2 separate regions of the Homo sapiens genome follow, and region 1 is linked to region 2. The links are contacts of gene promoters, found by promoter capture Hi-C in blood cells and fetal thymus (Javierre and others, 2016). All regions are on one chromosome and are shown on one strand. Each heading gives the region's core, a stretch centred on a gene start or on the middle of the fragment in contact. The rest is flanking DNA. Distances are from core to core; before and after follow the strand shown.

Region 1 (4,909 bases), core at 830-3,329, 730 kb after region 2:
AGACATCTTATAATATAAGAAGGGTGATTTTAAGATATTAAAAGTTTGCCTTTGGAGTTAAAAAGTAAAGACAAACAGAACCTATAAGCTCATAACACCTTAGGCTTAGAAGTCATTAGATTGCCTAATTCAACTCAATATTACCACCATGTAAAAATACCTACCTAGAGCATTGTCAGTTACACACCTGAATATTCAAAATCACAGGTGTTCATTGCCTCCTAAGGCTTTCTACTCTAATTTCACACAGTTCTAATAGTTAAAAAGTTCTTCATGCTGAATTGAATTCCCCATTCTTGTAACAATTTCTATTACCTGTTGGAACAATACAAAATTATTCTCTTTTCTACATAAAAGCCTTTTAAATATAGAAAGATTATTATCAGGGTGTCCCTAAAATCTTTCTCCCTTAAGACAAATATGCCCAGTACCATCAGAGATTTCTGTTAGTTGTATGTAAATTCTCCAGTCACCCTTTTCTTGAATCAGTGAACATCTGCTCAATACCACACTCTGGTGTGAACTGAGAAAAACAATATAGGGTAGGAACATCGGCTCCTGTGGACCTGACATTAACACACTATTAATGCAATCCAAAAGGATATCAGAATGTTTTAATCGCTACATCACTCTGTTGGCTTGTAAAGAGATTTGCTTTGTATAAAAATTTGCTCATATTTATATTAAGATGGGTTCAGAGTAGTCTTCCTATTTCTGTTGTTTTTTTTAACCTAAACAATTGAATTTGAATTTGTCTATGTTAAAGTCGTCTTGGTTTTAGCTGTTTGTTCCAACCAGTTTAAATTTGTCTTGAATTCCATATTTATTATGTGATCCTCCATTTCAAAGCATTTGTGTAACTTTTCAGCCCACATCCAAGTTGTTGTGCAGCATTTTAAAAGGGACAGGGACAAATACAGGACTGTGAGGCTGGGCATTCATATGCCACTTTCTGGGTAAAATCTCATGACCTACATTCTTTATTCACAGCTCTCCAATTTGTCAGCAACAAATCAGTAAAAACTGTTCCATGACTTGCTCAAATTTGAAAAGACTTTGCTTTTGCTTTTTAAATCACCTAATCCAGAAGTCTAGAATCCTACCCCAAAAAAGGAATCAAGAGTAACTTTCATTCCCATCCTTTTAAAATACATTCTGAAATTTAGTGGTTGCCCTTTTTCTGTGAACTCAAAACCATGTGTTTCCTGACTTATTTTGCCCAGAAATTGTTGTCAAATTTACAAATCTGTCACATTCGTAATCCATTTCTCTCTCCCTCTCTTTTTGTAAATGGCCTAGTATAAGCTTTTCTAGAAGCTTATGCTTACTTTGTCATCTCTGCTCTTGAAGTTTGTCTCCTCTCCAGAGTGCAATTTATCTGGGCTTGATATTAGAAATCATTTGACATACGTAGGTATCTTCTTAACGTGGCCTTTCCTTTCCTGGCCTTCCATATATTCTTATTAACCTTTATTCTACTTTCCAGTTGGGAAAAAAATGTCAAACAAAAAATAAAAATAAAGATTTCTCTCTTTCTCATGTCGTTTGTTAGTATTACACCATATTTCCAGCATGCTCATTCTGCCTTCCTTTCATGTGAATACAACTATGTTACGATTTGACGGTGGAGGAGGTTGGGGGAGAATCTTATTCCAAAACTGAAATCCTTAAGGAATTTTAAATTTTTGCTTTTAAAAATCTCAATGTTTCTTTTTTAAAAGGTATTGTTTACATTTTTAAAAAGTACATTTTTTATTTTTGCATTTATTTCTAATTATTAAAATTATATATATATACACTCTGTAGAAATTCTTGAAAAAAATTATATAAGCAAGCAAGTAATGAAAAAAAACCTCAAAATCCATTTTTCAACATCCATCCCATAGTCCCCACTTATCTGAGGAAGATACCTTCCAAGACTTCCAGTGGATTCTTGAAACCTCAGATGCTATTGAACCCTGTATATACTATGTTTTGTCCTATATGTAACCTATGATAAGGTATAATTTATAAATTAGCCACAGTAAGAGATTAACAATAATAATAAAATAGTACTTTATAACAATATGCCAGAATTTCTACTCTTGAACTTTGGGACCATTATTAAGTAAAATAAGAATTACTTGACCACAAGCACTACAATACTGAGACAGTCGATCAGATAAGAGATGGTTACTGAGTGACTAGCAGGGAGGTAACATATACAAGAGCATAGATATGTTGGCCAAAGGGATGAGTTACGCCCAGGCAGGATGGAGTGTGACAGCACAAGATTTCAATGCATTATTCAGAATAGTGAGCCATTTAAAACTTATGAATTGTTTATTTCTGGAATTTCCCATTTAACATTTTTTGGACTTCGATTGACTACGGGAAACTGAAACTTCAGAAAGCGAAACCACAGATAAGGGAGGACTGCTGTATAGATTCTAAAATATAAATAAAAAAGAAATATTGACTTTAATTCCATGATATCATTGAGCTCTCGGTGTTCAAGTCATTCATCCCTTCAATGTTCTGGCTTCTGACTTAACTAGATGCTAGAGCTACAATAAGAACTAAGAGTTCTAGACAGAAAGTACACATTCTTTGGCCTCAAGAAGTTTATTAACCATTAGATAAGCAAACTAAAAACTGAGATAGCTTGTAGAGCAAAGTGAAGTATGGGATGTCAAGAGAAGTCCAAAGAAACAGTACCTGAGAGCCTGGCAGAACATGGTCAGGAAAGGAGGCTCTAGTTATAATCCTAAATGAAGGCTCTTGGTTGAATATTCTTTCAAGCCACAAAAACATCCACAACATTCCCTTTTCAGTCTGGATCACATCACTAGAAAAGCTTCTAATCCCCTTTCTTTGACCAGAAAACTCAGCCTTTCTGTTCTCACTATCATTGTGAAGATGTATTTGTTTTTCCCAAAACCAAAAAAATATTTTACCACAGAGTAAGAAGTAGTTATATGCTCCCAAAACACAATATGTATTAAGGCACAAAAGCCATCTTTCAAGTAATCCTTGTTTTGATCTGAGAAGGATTCGTCGCTGAATTTAGGGAAACGTTCTCTCCCCAAGTAATTGCAATATCCATCTAATTCCGGCTGAAACAAACTCCTGTCATTCTGCTTATTCACACACCTATGTGAGCAAATGTAATTTCCTTGAGATAAAGTGTGTTGGCTGAATTGGTAAGAAAGAAATAGGGAAAGCAATTATTCAAAAAAAAAAATGAAGAAGAAGAAAAAAAGAAAACAAACAAAAGGACCCTGCCTGTGCTTATTAGTTCTTTGGTACAGAGCCATGTTTTGAGTCAGGAGCTTGTGTGAGTGTCTTATCCTTGGCTTAGGAAGAAATAGGGAACAAATGCACATCTATGGAAGCACAAACACAGAGGATTTCCTTTTGATCAATTAGTATAGAATGTAATGGCAGCTTTACATATATTTTTCCATAAACATGGAATAATAAAACATCTATTTACTAATAGTTGCAGGAAAACCAGCAAAGATGAACATATGACCTTTTATTATATGCAACATGTATTTTTGGCTGGCCAATTTCAGAAGATCCTTTCTACCTTTGTAGAATTGATTGACAATAAATATTAGTAGGAAATAGAACCTGCTCCATTTATAGAAACTGACAAAGACATACTTTCCCAGCCTACTTCGTAACGATGGAGAAAACATGGACCTACCTTTTATGAAAAAGATGTACCTGTTGGCCAGGCACAGTGGTTCACGCCTGTAATCCCAGCACTTTGGGAGGCCAAGGCAGGTGGATCACCTTAGGTCAGAAGTTCAAGACCAGCCTAGCCAACATGGTGAAACCCTGTCTCTACTAAGGATATAAAAATTAGCTGGGCATGGTGGCACACGCCTGTGGTCCCAACTACTCAGGAGTCTGAGGCAGGAGAATCGCTTGAACCTGGGAGGCAGAAGTTGCAGTGAGCCGAGATCACACCACTGCACTCCAGCCTGGGCGACAGAGCAAGACTCCGTCTCAAAAAAAAAAAAAAATGTACCTGTCAAAGGCATTGAGTCCAGAGTGGGTTATGAGAAGCATTCAGTGCCAGTAGTAGGGAGGGTTCAAGATGGTGCACTGATATCCAATGGTAATAGCAAAGGCATCCTCTGCAGACTGATTCATTGGCAAGATTTAATTTTGGGTATCTACCTTTCATTTACTTCTGCATATTTTGCCAACCTGATTTTTCTACCTTCTAGGTAATTCAGTGAGTTACCTAATGTAGACTCAGTAACTTCTTTTTCTGCTTAAGTTATCCACAGTTAATTTCTTTGGTTCACAACTCCACTAATATAATATTCTGACCAATAAGTCTCCTTCTCAATCTAATCTCTAAGGTTCTATTATTTCATCCAAACCACTCTATGGCAATTTATCTTTTTAAATACATGATTCTCCTCTATGAAGTCTTTGAGGGCAGGCATAGCTCTCCTTTTTTTCCTACCCATTACCTAAGAATATAATGCACACACACACACACACACACACAGACACTTCAAAATGTGTGTGAAAGTGAATGGTGCCATTAAAATCTTTTTATTGTTTCCCAGATACGTAATTCACCTTATCCTTGTAAATCGAAATAGACCACACTCTTTCATAGCTAGAGCTTTTGTTATTTGCTTATGAATTTTTCTTCTTTTTCTATTAGCTTTGGTGCAAGGACTGGGTTTTGTTAAGTTTAGATCCTGTATCCAATAAATAACTTATTGATGACTGTGAACACAACTAATGAATAGCAGAGCCATGCCTAGAAATCATGTTAACTAACTCTTGCCTGTATGCCCCTCAGCCTCTGAGCAGCATCATAACTAGCATGACAATCCCTTAGTTTCTAAGTAATGATTATACCACCACCTTAGACGGTTGGCATTTAGAGGCAAATAAC
Region 2 (5,307 bases), core at 513-3,012:
ACCTAGAATGAATGCAGACACGACATAATTAGAAACAGAACAAGAAGCACTGGAACCAGTCTACGTGTTCCATCTGAGACACGTTAGGCTCTAGGTCCACAGGCTTCAGACACGAGGCTCAAATATACTTATGATTCAGCAACAGTTCTTGTCTGTGCATGGAGGCACACCCAAACTATGCAGCCCCTAGTGGCATATACCTCCCACAATTACTGGAATAAAAGCATTGTTTAAGCCCACAAAAATTTCAGTTGAGAGGATGCAAATTGTGATTGAAACCCGTTCAAAATTGTAACACGACAATTTAACACAGGATTTCAAATTTCCTTTTTTTTATTTTTTTGGAGTGTTCCATCTAATGCGTTATGCTGTGATTGCTAGAGGCTATTTGGGAAGCCCATTTATCATGGATAACTTTGGGGAAAATTACTATATTGTAAACCTGTTAGTGACTAGAATTCCCCTCTATTAGATTCAAATGTTTGGATTCAGACTAACCAAGCTGTGATTATGAGAAGCTGGAGAAATGTTTGAAAGCTGGGGGTAGAAGCGGCATACTGCCACTGAAACCTCAATTTTGGAGTGTGAGAAACCAATGCACTCGAAAAACATTCTGCTTTACAGGACTAATATGAAATTATCCTAAACGGAGGTTTTCAGAGAAAGAAAATGGCAGGAAATTCATTAATGCTCCCACTCCCTGAATGTGTGTGTGTTTTCCTTTTTCCATGTTAAAATTGTGATTACAGAAATGAGACGAGATCAATATTACCTACAGCTTGACATTCAGAGACAACGACAGAACTAAATATCCATTAACTGTCTCTTTTCTCCGGCCTTTTCTCTAGAAACCTCCCTCAAATCACCCACATTGATAGAGAAATGACATGAAAAATGGCCCACAAACAACGGCGCTTTCCTTGAAGAAAACAACTTTCACGTTTTTCTCCCTTTTTTCCCTGCAGACTGTGTTACGCTCCTTAATTTGTCCCTGCACAAGAAATAAGCATATGGATCCGTGAATGTACCCTTCCTCCTCTGCTGCATTCTGAAAGGAAAGTCAGAAGCTCGTCAAACTTAGAACTTGAAGCTAAGCTAAGACACCCTCGGCAATGCAGGGGAAAAGTAGGAATGAGAACAAAATGAAAAATCCTGAAGAAACCACTCTGGGGGAAGAAGTCAACAAAGAAATTATACCACTATGAGGCTCATGAAGCCCGTGCAGGCCAAAAACCTTGTTCCTAAAAGCTCCCCATGTGTGGCTGCTAATGCACAGGAAATGTGATTAGCTGCCTGAGAAAGGCCTAGAATTACTCCCATTCTGACTAGATTACTGGATAATTAGATTGGTAGCGCTCTTCCCTGACTGTGGCTGTCAGATTAAATCTGGCTGGTTCTCTTTAGATAACTGTCATGCCCCAAAATAACAAACAGAGACTGACACAGCGAGGAGCCTTTTAAAAAGTGTTCCAAGAATCAAAGTGCCTATTTTTTCTTAATAATAAAACATGAACAATGTTCAATGGACTTGAGTTTATTCAAATTGTCATTATATTTGATTAAGAAAATGCTACCAGACAAAGCCTGGCCAGACAGGCTTAATCTCTGATGGTAAATGAACATCGCCAGGCTTGACTAGCCACCTCTGGGATCGACTGAGGGAAAGGCAGACTTGAATTACTCAGAGAATAAGCCAGTGGTTCTGTTTTAATGCTCTGAGTCAGCAGCCTTTTATAGCTCAAATCAAGGTCAACAAGATATGTAGAGCACCTTCTCTGAGCACTAGCTGGAACACGGCGGCTCTTCTTTCTTCCACTCTGAGACAAGAACACATGCGCTTTTCCTGTAAGTGTTGTCTCCCCAGTTATTCTGGAGACCATCCAGAAGAGAATGAGAATAAAGAAACCAACAGAAGAAAGGTACAAAGGGTCCCAGGTTCTTACCAAGTTCCCACAGTCTTGTTCTGCTGTCCCTAGTGACTAAATGTTTGCAGTGACTGGGGCAGTGTTTCCTCAGGTGTTATAGCCTGGCCTCTGGCAAGAGATGGGAAAGGGGATAGAAAGATGAAATGCTTTTTGGTGGTACACATGAAACCATACATTTTTACTTATTTTATTTTTATATGGCAAATATAACTGATTTTCTATTTATAATAGAGATACAAAGTTTCCTTTTTAAGGAAACTAACAACAAAGTGTTCAAAAATAAACATAGATGATCAATTTGTTTTAAGAAAAGGTTAACAGGCAGGTATGGCAAAATGCAAATATAACAAAGGTGGAAAGCTGAGAAACCTGGGTGTAAATAAGAGAAGACAGAGCAAAGCATCAGATCAGATGGTGAATCCCAGCATTTCCACTTAGAATTGCAAACTCTTGGGCTAGTTCATTCACTTCACCCAGGGTCAGAATCCACTCATTGGCAGATCTACGGGTTATAACCTTTCTGATCGCAGAAAGTTGTAAAATATCAGCAGTGAGCCTGCCACAGCGTGCATGTTCAGTAAGTGAAAGCAGTTATTGCTTTTAACAAGTGGAACTGGAGTTCTATGTATCTCTTCATAAAATGCCTAAGAAATGTCAGTTCTCTTTGGGTAGGACTTGCCAAATCTCCTCATTGTTTGGTTCCCTCTTTCTTGGGAGGACAGCTCTAAGAAGAATCCCTTGGCTTCAGATGTTTAATATGCATCTCCAAAGCCCCTAGAAGGACCAGGCAAATTTCACTGTGCCTCTGCTCTTCATGGACACCACTGACTTTAGCATAAGTGTCCTGGTCTTTACATCTCTCACCCTGTGCAGTGTGCCTGTCTTGAGTAGATGCTCAACAAATGTTACCTCAGTGAATATGACAATTAAAGAAGCAGTGCAGTATACATTTTTTAAATTCAAATGTTCATACAGTATACAAGAGAGAAAAAAACAAGTGGCCAAATCTTTTTCAAACTCAATAAAATAAGCTAAAAAATTAAAAGTCATTGCCATTTCTTTTTAAAGTGAATGTATCTATTGTTTAAAAAGTATTTGATATACTACTAAAAGTAATAATTGGCACAAACATTCTGGAAGGCAATTTAGCAGTACATTAAAACGTGTATGAAATATACATTTAAGATATACCATTTGATTCAGCAATTCTAACTTTAGAAATCGATTCTAAACCAATTATTATGAATATGTAGAGATATTTACTTATAAGGATGGTCAATGCAGCCTCTTTGAAATACTGGTGGTTTGGAAACAACCATTATGCTCAGCAATATATTTTTAAAATACAGTATGATACTGCTTTACAAATGGGAAAGCATGTGGCCACTGAAAATAATTTTTTTGAACAATATTTAGTAACAGGGAAAATGATTTAGTTTATACACAACTTATCAGATTAAAATACAATATGTATGAATAGATTCATTTTTGTAATTTGTCTTTAGATAAAGAAGGAAGAATAAAAGATACCAAAATGACAGTTATCGCTTGCTTCGGAGGTGAGACTATAGAGGATTTTTATGTCTTTCCTAGTTATTTTTCTTGAAGTTTCTATTATGAACAAATACATTTCATAGCTAATTTATTTTGTGCAATTGGCCAAGGACTATGCTAAGTTTGTTACATGTATTATCATGTAATTCTCACAAAAGCCCTATGAAGTAGGAAGAATCATTATCCCCATTTTTAAAGATGGGTAAACACAGCTGTAGAGACAGTAAATAACTTACCCAGGGTCACACAGGAGTAAGGGGTAGAGATAGCCTTCAAACTCAGTTTATCTGACAGCAGAAATGGAATATTTTAGGGTTAAATACAATACTGTTTCATATGTATTATTCTTTATATAGGGTAAAAAGCTACTTTAAAACAAGGAAAAAATGCCAAGGACCACTATATGATTGATAGCAGAAAGAATTGTACAGATGAATGTAAAATCATTAAAATGTTTTCCTCCACTTTGAACCAGTGGAATCTATGCACGATCAAATAGTTCAGTGTAAATTATTTTGTGTAACACATCATCCTTCAAGAACCCAGGGATTTTATTTACAACAGACTGACCAATTGATGTTTCTAAATATTAACTAGTGAAGCAAGCTCTTGGTCCTATAGAATTTTAAATTATCAAACTTCGCTTATCTTCTGTTAAATTTAGAATTGTGTTTGTTTAAAATGTCTAAGAATGATCCCCGAAGCTTAATCATTTTCCTCATTGTTATGCAGGTAATATATGCTCAATTTTAACATCCAGAGATAAACTTTCTACCTTTTGCTGTTTTCTTTCCGTCTTTCGTGTGTGTGTGGGTGTGTGTGTGTGTGTGTGTGTGTGTGTGTAACCAAAATGTCAATAAAATGTTTACTGCATGAGATTATCCAGATATTTTAGATTTCTGGAGTCATCCTAGTACATCTGGGGAAATACTTGGCATAGTTACACATCTGTATCTGCTCATATGCCATTCTGATTTGCTAGCATTCCTTTCTCTCAGCCTTGTATCAACCTGTAGGTAGAATATAGTGACATAGCAGTGGCTTTTCTCTTAAGCCCTTCCAGAGCATGCTTCCTGATGGTCAGGGCATAGGAGGGGATTATATCAGAGTTCAGGACAACACATTATAGCAAAAAGTTTATGTTTCAATAGCAGATATCCTTCTTTTTTTTATATCTCCCCGTCATCTGAATACCTCATTGAACAGTTATTCAATTTTCTCCTGGAACTTTAATCTCTTGTTCAGTGTCTCTTCTTTTCCCTTTAAAAAATATCTGGCCTTCTTCCAAGAAAAACCAGGGAAGTAAAAATTGCTGTTGCTCTTCGGTTATGCTTTGTCTCACACTCATCCTTCTCTCAGGCAGATACTGGGCTTCTCTATTTATATGCAAGTGTTTTTCTAAACAAAAAGAGGACTTCCAAGGCCAGCTTTTACAGTGACACTTTTTATTTATTCTGTGCTGCATTCTGATCATTCTCTCTCTCTCTCTCTCTCTCTCTCTCTCTGTCTATCTTCTATCTATCATCTATAGTGTATATTCTGGTTTTTGCCATACAGTATTTTACAGTGAACATTTTCTCATCTTAGTACAAACACTATGGAAGCAGAATGTAATGGCCAAGTAAATTCAACCTTACAGATGTATTAGTGTGATGTTTCCAAAGTTTGCAGAATGATAAAAGTATCACTAGGCGTGTTTATAAAAAAAATACAATTTTCAAAAATTTCCCCTTGGATATTTTGATTTGGTAGGTCTGGGATAGGACCTAAAAATCCATAGTTTGCAAAAAGTGTTTCCAAATTATCCTTCCTGTATATGATCATCTCC

The links. The method cuts DNA at HindIII sites, captures the fragments that hold promoters and counts their contacts. A CHiCAGO score of 5 or more calls a contact.
Region 1: a fragment that was not itself captured here is called in contact with the fragment with the promoter of RBMS3-AS2 in region 2 in 1 of 17 cell types (endothelial precursors); the score reaches 6.3 in endothelial precursors.

The regions. Positions count from the first base shown.
Region 1 is chr3:28,910,009-28,914,917 of GRCh38, reverse strand. No RefSeq gene overlaps it. Among named protein-coding and RNA genes, the nearest start is that of LINC00693, 340 kb to the right of the region's middle. The HindIII fragment of the contact is 1,519 bases long and covers 1,320-2,838 here.
Region 2 is chr3:29,639,271-29,644,577 of GRCh38, reverse strand. It overlaps RBMS3-AS2 (RBMS3 antisense RNA 2), which reads left to right and starts at 1,762. Exons shown (of 3, transcript NR_174948.1): 1 at 1,762-1,919; 2 at 3,431-3,484. The region is part of intron 4 of RBMS3 (RNA binding motif single stranded interacting protein 3); the gene reads right to left. The HindIII fragment of the contact is 8,371 bases long and covers 1-4,185 here.